3 separate regions of the Homo sapiens genome follow, and regions 1 and 2 are each linked to region 3. Evidence: promoter capture Hi-C in 16 types of primary human blood cells and fetal thymus (Javierre and others, 2016). All regions are on one chromosome and are shown on one strand. The core of a region is centred on a gene start or on the middle of the fragment in contact, and the rest is flanking DNA. Distances in the headings are between cores, read along the strand shown. Region 1 has its middle 38 kb from the start of TRIP13. Region 2 overlaps TRIP13 (thyroid hormone receptor interactor 13). Region 3 holds the start of SLC6A3 (solute carrier family 6 member 3).

The links. Contacts are between HindIII fragments. The CHiCAGO score rates a contact against its expected background, and 5 or more counts as called.
Region 1: a contact is called between a fragment that was not itself captured here and the fragment with the promoter of SLC6A3 in region 3, in 2 of 17 cell types (M1 macrophages and naive CD8 T cells). The highest score is 6.1, in M1 macrophages.
Region 2: a contact is called between a fragment that was not itself captured here and the fragment with the promoter of SLC6A3 in region 3, in 5 of 17 cell types (M1 macrophages, non-activated CD4 T cells, total CD8 T cells and 2 more). The highest score is 6.2, in M1 macrophages.

What each region holds. Positions count from the first base shown.
Region 1 is chr5:928,604-932,239 of GRCh38, reverse strand. No RefSeq gene overlaps it. Among named protein-coding and RNA genes, the nearest start is that of TRIP13, 38 kb to the right of the region's middle. RefSeq lists a silencer at 2,579-2,755. The HindIII fragment of the contact is 2,012 bases long and covers 1,191-3,202 here.
Region 2 is chr5:900,212-903,551 of GRCh38, reverse strand. It overlaps TRIP13 (thyroid hormone receptor interactor 13), which reads right to left. Exons shown (of 13, transcript NM_004237.4): 4 at 3,003-3,058; 5 at 2,121-2,211. Among named protein-coding and RNA genes, the nearest start is that of TRIP13, 9.0 kb to the right of the region's middle. RefSeq lists a silencer at 164-458. The HindIII fragment of the contact is 227 bases long and covers 1,265-1,491 here.
Region 3 is chr5:1,443,353-1,446,907 of GRCh38, reverse strand. SLC6A3 (solute carrier family 6 member 3) reads left to right here and starts at 1,468. Exons shown (of 15, transcript NM_001044.5): 1 at 1,468-1,560. RefSeq lists an enhancer at 331-830. The HindIII fragment of the contact is 13,596 bases long and covers 1-3,555 here.

The sequences.
Region 1 (3,636 bases), core at 947-3,446, 520 kb after region 3:
CTGCAGGTCCAAGTACAGAAAAGAGAGTGTCTTAAAGGAAGCCTTTGACTCTCTTTGGCTGAGTTTATGGAAAGGAAAATGAATCAAGCCCAAAATGGCCAGTAATGGCAGGGTCATTATTCCTTAAATGAAGCTCCACCTGCCTTTCCAACGAGGCAAGAACCAAATGCGTCCTTTGAAAGGAGGGCTCAGAGGTGCGGGTGCAGAACCCCATGCTCTCTTGAAGCGGTGTGGCCTGTCCCCAAACTGAGAGTCCCCATCTTCAAAACGGAGAGTTTGGTCACTTGAATTTTGTTGACATTTCTTACCTTGGGAAGCAGCTGGCTTCGTGCTGTTCGAAGTTGACCTCCTTTGCTCCAGATGGGAAGTGCCCCCAAAGCTGGCATGAACAGCTGTCACTCCCTAAGAAACTGCAGCTTTTTCTGAGGGCGGGAGCAGGTGCTCACCGATTTCCTTCTGTGGCGTGATCCTGAAGGAGCTAAGAGCCCACCACCCCAAAGGCATTGCTCTGGCTTTAAGCTGATCGCCATTCCATGTCTTAAAAGCAGGAGACGAAATTCTCATGTGAAAGATGCCCTCCCCATACGTTTGGGAAAGCATCTTTCTTATCAACAGTGGGAGGCCCAGACCCAGAGAGATTTCAGCATAGCCTCCTTAAAATCACTCTTCTTGGCAGCCTCCGCACACAATGTATTTTTCACAGCTTACTACTCCACCTCCAATTCAGGGTGCACAAAAGTTCTTTGAAAAGGAATGTAGAGGAAAGACTATTCCTATGAACAGTTTGTGAAGTGGGAGATGCTGCCTTCAGCGTAAAACCAGGATGCTTTCCAGAGAACAAAGAGAGGGTCCAGCTTTTATACTGAAAGTTCTCACATAGGTTCGCTTATGCAAATGAAAAATTCAAACTTCCTGTGTTCTGATGGGTTGGTTCAGGGGAGCTCTGGAAGTCCCAAAGTTTAACAGAGGTATGGGATTTCAAGGAACTCCGGGTACCCGTGTGACCTCTAGTCAGCAAACGGTCACTGGGCTCTATGAGGATTTAGGGCCGGTGAGCCACTAGAGATCCACCCATCCACTTCTTGCAAGTCCTGTTTGCTCACATGGGTGTGAGTGTCCAACTCTGTGGCTTTAGGGCATTCCTTCCATGGGAGGCTCTCCCACCATATAGAGCTTCCTTTAAATAAGCTTCCGTGCTTTCCTCCTGTTGATCTTTCTGCGTCAGTTAAATTCTCCGGTGCAGCCTGAGAGTCTGTACACAGGTGATCATATTCACAGGTTAATGTGCTCACAGGTGAATGTACGGGGAGGTGAATGTGTTCACAGGTGAATGTACTGGGATTAAATGTGCTCACAGGTGAATGAATGTACTGGGAGGGGAATCTGTCACAGGTGAATGTACTGGAAGGTGAAGGTGCTCACAGGTGAATGTACTGGGAGATGAAGGTACTCACAGGTGAATGTACTGGGAGGTGAAGGTACTCACAGTGAATGTACGAGTAGGTTATGTGCTCACAGGCGAATGTACTGGGAGGTGAAGGTGCTCACAGGTGAATGTACCAGTAGGTTATGTACTCACAGGTGAATGTACTGGGAGGTGAAGGTGCTCACAGGTGAACACATTTGGAGGTGATGGTGCTCACGGTGGAAGTATTTGGAGTATACCTGTGTATGTCTGTTCTTGCAGTGCTCTAAATACCTGAGAAATCTTACAATCATTGTGGAAGTCTAAGGGGAAGCAGGCACATCTTCACTTGACCAGAGCAGGAGGAGGAGAAAGAGAGGGTAGGTGCCATATGCTTTTTAACAGATCTCATGAGACCTCTATGAGAACATCAGCCAAGGAAGAAATCAGCTCCCACGATCCAATCACCTCCCACCATGCTCCACCTCCAGCTTTGGGGATTACAATTCAACATGAGGTTTGTGTGGGGACACAAATCCAAACCATATCATTTCACCCCTGGCCTCTCCCAAATCTCATGTCCTTCTCATATTGTAAAATAAATCATCCCTTCCCAACTGTCCCCCAAAGTCTTAAGTCAGCACTAACTTAAAAGCCCAAGTCCAAAGTCTCATCTGAGACAAGGCAAATCCCTCCTTCCCCTGAGCCTGTAAAATAAAAAACAAATTAGTTACTTCCAAGATACAATGGAGGCACAGGCACTGAGTAAATGCTCTCATTCCAAGTGGGTTAAATCGGTCGAAAGTGAGGGGCTACAGGCCCAATGCAAGTCTGAAACCTAGCAGGGCAGCCATTAATATATTAAAGCTCTGAAATGATCTCCTTTGACTCCATGTCTGACATCCAGATCATGGTGATGCAAAGGGTGGGCACCCATGGCATTGGGCAGTTCTGCCCCTGTGGCTCTGCAGGGTACAGCTCCCATGGTTGTCTTCACAGGCTGTTGTTGAGTGCCTGCAGCTATTCCAGGTGCATGGTGCAAGCTGTCAGTGGATCTACCATTCTGAGGTCTGCAAGACAGTGGCCCTCCTCTGACAGCTCCACTAGGCAGTGCTGCAGTGAAGACTCTGTGTGGGGGCTCCAACCCCACATTTCTCCTCTGCACTGCCCTAGTAGAGGTTCTGCATGAGGGCTCTGCCCCATACCAGACTTCTGCCTGAACATCCAGGCATTTCCATGTATCTTCTGAAATCTAGGCAGAAGTTCCCAAATCTCAACTCTTGACTTCTGTGCACCTGCAGGCCCCACACCATGTGGAAGTCACCAATGCTTGGGCCTTGCACCCTCTGAAGCCATGGCCCAAGTTGTACCTTGGCCCCTTTTAGCCACAGCTGGAGCTGGAGCAGCTGGGACACAGGGCACCATGTCCTGAGACTGTACAGAGCTAGCTGGGCTCTGGGCCTGGCCCATGAAACCATTTTTCCCTCCTAGGTCTCTGAGCCTGTGATGGGTAGGGCTGCTGTGAAGATCTCTGACATGCCCTGAAGACATTTTCCCATTGTCTTGGTTATTAACATTTGGCTCCTCTTTACTTATGCTATACAAATTTCTGCAGCAGGCTTGAATTTCTCCTTAGAAAATGGGTTTTTCTTTTTCTACAACAAGGCTGGGCTGCAAATTTCCCAAACTTTTATGCTCTGCTTCCCTTTTAAATACAAGTTCCAGTTTCAGATAATCTCTTTCTTCACACATATGAGTGTACACTTTTAGAAACAGCCAGATCACCTCTTGAAAGCTTTATTGCTTAAAAATTTCTTCTTCCAGATACCCTAAATCATCTCTCTCAAGTTCAAAGTTCCATAGATCTCTAGGGCAGGGGCAAAATGTCACCAAATTCTTTGCTAACGCATAACAAAAGTGACTTTTTCTCTAGTTTCCAATAAGTTCCTCATCTCCATCTGCGATCACCTCAGCCTGGACTTCATTGTCCATATCATTATTCAGCATTTGGGTCACAACAATTTAACAAATCCCTAAGAAATTCCAAACTTTCCCTTATCTTCCTGTCTTCATCTGAGCCCTCCACACTCTTCCAACCTTTACCTGTTACCCAGTTCCAAAGTCACTTCCATATTTTCAGGTATCACTACAGCAATGCCCACTCCTAGGTACCAATTTTCTGTATTAGCCATTCTCCCATTGCTATAAAGAACTGCCTGAGACTGGTTTAT
Region 2 (3,340 bases), core at 129-2,628, 540 kb after region 3:
GGCAAGAGACCGAGGGCACGAGCTGTTCCAGTATAATAAAATAAATAAAATAAGAATAATTATACTAGATATAGATCTTAGATATGATTATATATGAATATTAATCATTAATTTGTAGCAATTACTCTTTATTCCAATATTATAATAATCCTTGCTCTACAATCATAACCTAGGAAAAACCAGGCCATACAGAGATAGGAGCTGAGGGGACATAGTGAGAAGTGACTAGAAGACAAGAGTGCGAGCCTTCTGTTATGCCTGGACAGGGCCACCAGAGGGCTCCTTGGTCTAGCAGTAATGCCAGCGTCTGGGAAGAAGCCCGCTGCCAAGCTGACCGTGGTCTAATGGTAGCGTCAGTGTCAAGGAAAAACACCTGCTACTTAGCAGACCGGGAAAGGGAGTCTCCCTTTCCCCCGGGGAGTTTAGAGAAGACTCTACCCCTCCACCTCTTGTGGAGGGCCTGACATTAGTCAGACCCGCCCGCAGTCATCCAGAGGCCTGTCTCCCTGTGATGCTGTGCTTCAGTGGTCATGCTCCTAGTCCGCCTTCATGTTCCATCCTGTACACCTGGCTCTGCCTTTTAGCTAGCAGTAGCAAATTAGTGAAAGTACTAAAAGTCTCTGATATGCAGAAATAATGGTGTAAGCCGTCTCTCTGTTTCTCTTCTCTCTCTCTGCCTCAGCTGCCAGGCAGGGAAGGGTCCCCTGTCCAGTGGACACGTGACCCACGTGACCTTACCTATCAGTGGAGATGGCTCACACTCCTTACCCTGCCCCTTTGTCTTGTATCCAATATATATCAGCGCAGCCTGGCATTCGGGGCCACTACCGGTCTCCGCGTCTTGGTGGTAGTGGTCCCCCAGGCCCAGCTGTCTTTTATCTCTTTGTCTTGTGTCTTTATTTCTACACTCTCTCGTCTTTGCACATGGGGAGAAAACTCACCAACCCTGTGGGGCTGGACCCTACAAAAGATGCCTCACAGAAGCTGCGAGGTGACCAATATGGAAAAAGGAAAGCATCTAACAGAAAATGGAGACATACAACTCTAATTTTCTGCAGGTATTTTCAAGAATTAAAGAGGAAATACGTAACTGGTTCCAAACAGAAACAACTTATTTCACTAATTAAAACACCTGCTGCTTACTCTGACTGTGCTATGAGGGCAGTATGCGGGGCCTGTCTGCTCTTTAAAAGAACATTGTGTTTTAAGGTCACTTTGTCACGCAATCTTAACTGACTTAAAGAAGCCAAGTACCCTTCAAGCTTCTATTTAACACTTGGCTACAGTTTCATACTCTCGAGTCCACTCAATTCCCGTGTCCCCATTCTACCCGGTGATATTGACAACAAAACAAAACAAAACCAAACAACAAACCATCAGTATTTTCTCCTGAGAAGAACCAGACAGAATTTCTTTAAAATATGGCTTTTTCAGTTTACTCCTCACAAAGTAAAGCTCTGAGTACTACAAGCCTAATTTATAAGTTAAGCTTTATCATAGGAATGTCTGTAGGAAAAAATAGTCTACATAAGGTTTAGTATTATCCACGTTTGGGGCATCTGAGGATGTCTTGGAATGTGGCCCCCCACAGGAAGACTTGATTAAGTGCCGAGTAATCAATGCCCCAGGGGCCGCGCGCGGTGGCTCAAGCCTGTAATCCCAGCACTTTGGGAGGCTGAGGCGGGCGGATCACCTGAGGTCAGGAGTTTGAGACCAGCCTGGTCAACGTGGTGAAACCCCGTCTCTACTAAAAATACAAAACTTAGCTGGGTGTGGTGGCGCATGCCTGTAATCCCAGCTACTCGGGAGGCTGAGGTAGGAGAGTTGCTGGAACCTGGGAGGAACCCAGGAAGTGGAGGTTGCAGTGAGCCGAGATCGGGCCACTGCACTCCAGCCTGGTCGACAGCGAGACTCTGTCTCAAAAACAAAAACAAACAAACAAACAAAAAATGTCCCAAGTGTCATGAGCTGGATCTGCTTCACAGAGAGGGGACATTCTAGGACAGCTGTGGCTCCTTCAGAAAACAAAGAGCCGTAACTCCTTGCAGAAGGACGAAGGTACAAGTAAAGGCTAAATTTCATGCCACTTATCTGGTCAAATAAAAGCCTGCATAATTTACCGTGGAGCAGCACCACCCGGTTCCAGGTGATGAGGTTGCTGTTGACGTTCTTGTCTGAAAACAGTAAAGTTGTCATCACATAATCGAGGAGCTGATAGAGAAAAAGAAAAGAGCTTGACAAAGATACCAACAAGGCAAAGGTCCCCAAGAAATGTGCCCTCCCCCAGGGCTTAATCCTACATGAGAAGAGGGAGCACAGGGAGCGAGGCCGCCTCCTAAGAGATCATCACCTCCAAACGCTTTCATTTCAGAAGAGAAGGTGCTTCCAAAAGGGAAAAGGAAAAACACTGGCTATTACTATTATAAATATAAGAAGAGCAACAAAATGATCACTTTTATTTAAAGTGCCAACATTAAACAAAACCACTAAGGGGTTTGTTTATCAAGTAATGAGTAAGCTCCTTCCCTAGAATGATACAGCAGTTATTATTCGCAAAATAACAACAGCCACAATGCAGAGGAGCAGTCTGAGTGATAGTCTCAGACTATCAATGCAGAGGACAGCTGAGTGATAGTCTTCTAGCCAGCTGCTGGCATGGGAAAGACCCTTCCCGTTGAAGAGGGTGCAGGGGTTAAGACACACCGGCCTTTCCTTTGTGCGGACCAGGCTTGCTCACCTTCCCTCCTCCCATCTCCAGAGGGTTTAATTCTCTAAGTTGCCTTCACGTTCTCCCTTTCCCTCTTCTCCCTCAGGGAGCTCCTCAGAGACCAGCTCTACTCTGGAGCAATACTAGAGGATAGATGTCCAGGACAAGGGCTGCCAGCAGACAGGGGCTCCCAAAAACCCATCTGCATCAAGTTGCTCAGGGGTGTTGGAGAGCAAAACAGTAATGGTTCCTCTTCAAATAACAGGGCATTCTGGGAAAAGGCACAGCAACTTACATGGGATTTGACTTCCACATCGTATACCAAGCTGTCCCAAAGCCCATGGAATTCAGCTGTGACAGAATTAAACAAAGACCTGATTTCAGGAAGGCAAGCAATTACAGCCACCCCCAGTCAGTCTCCCCTGAGCCTAAGCCTGAGCTTCCCATTGTGCTGCTCCAGGCAAGACTATGATTCTGATTACAGGAAAGTATAAATTCTGCAAATTTTTCTTCAAATTTTGATTTTTATTAAAATCAAAGATGCAAAATAAATGCCAGTCACATGTAACTTCTGGCAGACAACTGGATGGAGTCAAAGAATTACACTTTACGTCTCATTATCACGCACAATTG
Region 3 (3,555 bases), core at 219-2,718:
GGGACCAGTGCCCTCATAAAACAGACCCCGGAGAGCTCTCCCCAGCCCCTAGCGTGGGGAGATACAGGGAGAGAACTGTCTGCAACCCCGAAGCGGCCCTCACCAGACACAGAGTCGGCCAGGCCTTGGCCTCGGGACACCGGAACCGTTAGAACTGAAGGCTTCTGTGTGAGCCCCCAGGCTGTGGAGTTTTTTGTCATGGCAGCCCCAGGGGGTCACTAGGCTCCCACTTGATTCCAACTCAGCGTGAAGTCACAGCCCTGAGTGCCTTCTGCCTGGGTGCCAGCCCCGGAGCCGGGGAGCGGGGGAGCGGGGGGCGGGGAGGGGAGTGGTGGTGTGCGGGGAGTGCGGGGCGGGCGCAGGGGGTGGGGCACCGCGCTGCGGGCGGGTACTGCGGAGTCAGGCACCAAGGGTCCCTGCCTCCCTCACTGCTGAGCGCGGGCTGCAGGCTGGAATGGCTGGAGAGCCCCAGGGCTCGCCTGGACGCCCAGGGCAGGGTGCTCACGGGAGCATCGAGGGTACACGGGGAGGAACGCCGGGGTTCGGGCGACCCTAGGGGCGACGCACAGAGCTGGGCGCGGCCACTCACCTCGGTGCCTTCTAAGGACCTGGACATCCTGGGCCTTGGCGGCCTGGGGGCTCCATTCCTCCGCGCGCTGAATGGAAGAAATCCCGCCCGGGCATCTCGGAAGGAAAGCCTCGGAGTCCATTCGGCCCTGGAGCCGGATACCAACCGCCAGGGCTTTCCAGGCCCGTCCCGGGAAATGGTTTTCTTAGGCGAGTGCGAGGCGGGCCCCTCGGTTCCGATGCAGGCGCACTAGATGCCGGCAAGGCGGGGACTAGGCCTAGGGGACCTCGGTCGCCTCGAGGTCGCGGAGACCCCAAGGCCACGGAAGGACCCGCGTCTCCGCAGCCCGCACGCCGGGAAGCGTGCAGAGTCCTCGGCGGGGTCCCGAGCCCGCTGGTCAGAGCGTGGAGCGGCGGGGTGGGAGGGACGTGGTCCCCAGAGCGCGGGGCCACCGTAGGGGCCCCTGATGGGGAGGGAGGGAAGGGTCGGCCCGACGGGGTCCCAGCAGTTCCCCGCGCGCAGCCGCTCGGCTCCCTCCCCGTCCAGCTGGGAGCCGCCAGCCCTGGGCGTCCGAAGATAGCGGGTGCCCGGGGCAGCCCCCAGGGGTGCGGGCGAGGGCGCAGGGCGGCCCAGACAGTTCCCGCGTGGAAGGCGCCCGTCTAGATCCGCGACGTCTCGGACCCCCAGGCCCCCGCACCCCGTGTCCGAGGCTCCGGGACGCGCAGGACAGTGGAGCCGTGGCCGCCGCTTGCTCCCAGCCATCTGCGTCCGGGAGGCGGGGGCGGGGGCGCGGCCCGGGGAGGTGAGGAGGAGGAGCCAGGACGCGAGGGCGACCCCGTCGGCGGGAGGGCGGGGCGGGGCGGACCCTGTCTACTGGATAAGAGCCCGAGGCCGAGGCTGAGACCGCCCAGCGCTGCGGAGCGGGAGGGGAGGCTTCGCGGAACGCTCTCGGCGCCAGGACTCGCGTGCAAAGCCCAGGCCCGGGCGGCCAGGTGAGGCCAGCGTCGCTCGCGGCATCGGGGCGCCCCGCTCCTTCCGCAGACCCCGAAGTGGGGCGCAGGGGCGGGGGCCGGGGACCGGGCACAGTCTGGGGTCCCCGCGTCCCGCAGACCGCGCCGTCTCCAAAGTCGCCAACAGTCGCGGGTGCCGAGCGCCCCCCGATAGCGCCACATGGGACCCTGAGGCCGTCCGAGGCGCGAGGAGGGTGCAGGGCTGCCCCTGGCCCCGCTCCAGGCTCAGAACCGGGTGGGCACCTGGTGCAGTCACCGGCTTAGGGGACGCGTGGGTGTCTATGGCTGTGACTCGGGGGTCCTGGTTTCTTCTCGTGGAACTTAACCCTACTAGGGGTGCGGCGCATCCCAGATCCGATCGGAGTGGGTTTTGTACACCGCCGCTCCATCTCGCGGGGGCTTTGTCTGTGTTGGGGGTGGTGGCGGGCGCGGGCTGCGCGCTGGTGCTCTGGGCAGGGCGGGGAGGCCGGGCGAGGACTCGCCAGGCAGCGCCGCTTCTTGTTCTGGGCGCGGTGAGGAAGGACGCTTTCTAACGGGCCACATTTTGCTGTGTAGACCCAAAACTCGCCTCTGAGGCCCCGCGTTCAGGAGCGGGGTCAGGTGGCCCCAGGGCGGCGGCGGCTTGCCGGAGACTCGCGAGCTCCGCACCCGACGCCCTCTCCCAACGCGGCCTCCTGCTCGCGCCGCGGAACCCCTTCGTCGGGTGTTTTACCCACCGGAGGGGTCGTGCCGGTTGAGGTTGTCACCGGGTGCGTGGCATAGCTCGTGATAGCTCATGGGTGAGGTTTTGTGCAAACTTGGATGCAGGGAAAGTTGCCTGTTAGAGCCTCCACCTGCGACCTGCTTCAGTCGTTGTGTGTGTGTGCGCACCTGTGTGAGTGTGAGTGTGTATGTGTGTAAGTGTATGTGCTCGCCTGTGTGTGTGTGAGTGTGTATGTGTGTTTGTGAGTCTGTGTGTGTCTGTGTGTCTGTGTGTGCGTGCGCTCGACTGAAACACGCTGCTGCTGGATCCAAATGACAGAAGTCGCCCTGGCTGGGGCGGTGTAGACGCTCCTGCTCTCCTGCTCAGCGTTGCAGGGGGGTTTATGTAGCCGTTTGGACAGGATTTCCCGGGTTACCCTGCTGGCCCAGGAGCTAGTTCCCGCGATGAAGCCCTGTCCATCCTCCGCCCAGCTCTCTCACGCGGGGTGGTGCCACCTGCCCTAGGTGGATGTGGCTTGTACAGACACTTTTTGAGGAAGCAGTTGTGATGGTTATGTCTAAACTCTCTTTACAGTGGCTGATTTTGCTTATATAAATTTTGCTCTTTATTACTGAGTATAAACAATACAAGCCCAGGCTTGGTGGCTCATGCCTGTCATCTCAGCACTTTGGGAGGCTGAGGCAGGAGGATCGCTTGAGACCAGGAGTTCAAAACCAGCCTTGGCAACAATAGTCAGACCCTGTCTCTACAAAAAAACAACAACAACAACAAAAAAACACACACAAAAATAACTTAGCCGGTGCTGTGGTGCACACCTGTAGTCTCAGCTGCTCAGGAGGCTGAGGTGCAAGGATCACTTGAACCTAGGAGGTTGAGGCAGTGAGTTGTAATCACAACTGTATTCCATCCTGGGTGACAGAGCGAGACCTCATGTTAAAAAAGAAAAAAAAAAGAAAAAAGAATACAGATGAACAGTCATGAAGACATTATTGAATGCTCTTAGAAGATTGTAAAATTGCTCTCTGGAAGTGTGGGGGAAGGTGGAAGTGATATCCATGCATTGTTAGTAGAAAGCCACGCTAGAGCTCACACAGCCTTGCACTTTGATAGGAGTGGGGAGGGGTGCAGGGGAAGGAGGAGCAAACCAGAGTGTCTGTCTTGAGGCCTCCATGGGCCAGTGCCCCAGCCCTGTGGTGAGGGCTGGCACTTCCCAGCTCCCGTGCCCCAGCTGTACCATCTCAGGCGCTGAGAACGCACCCATCCCTTCCCAGAGG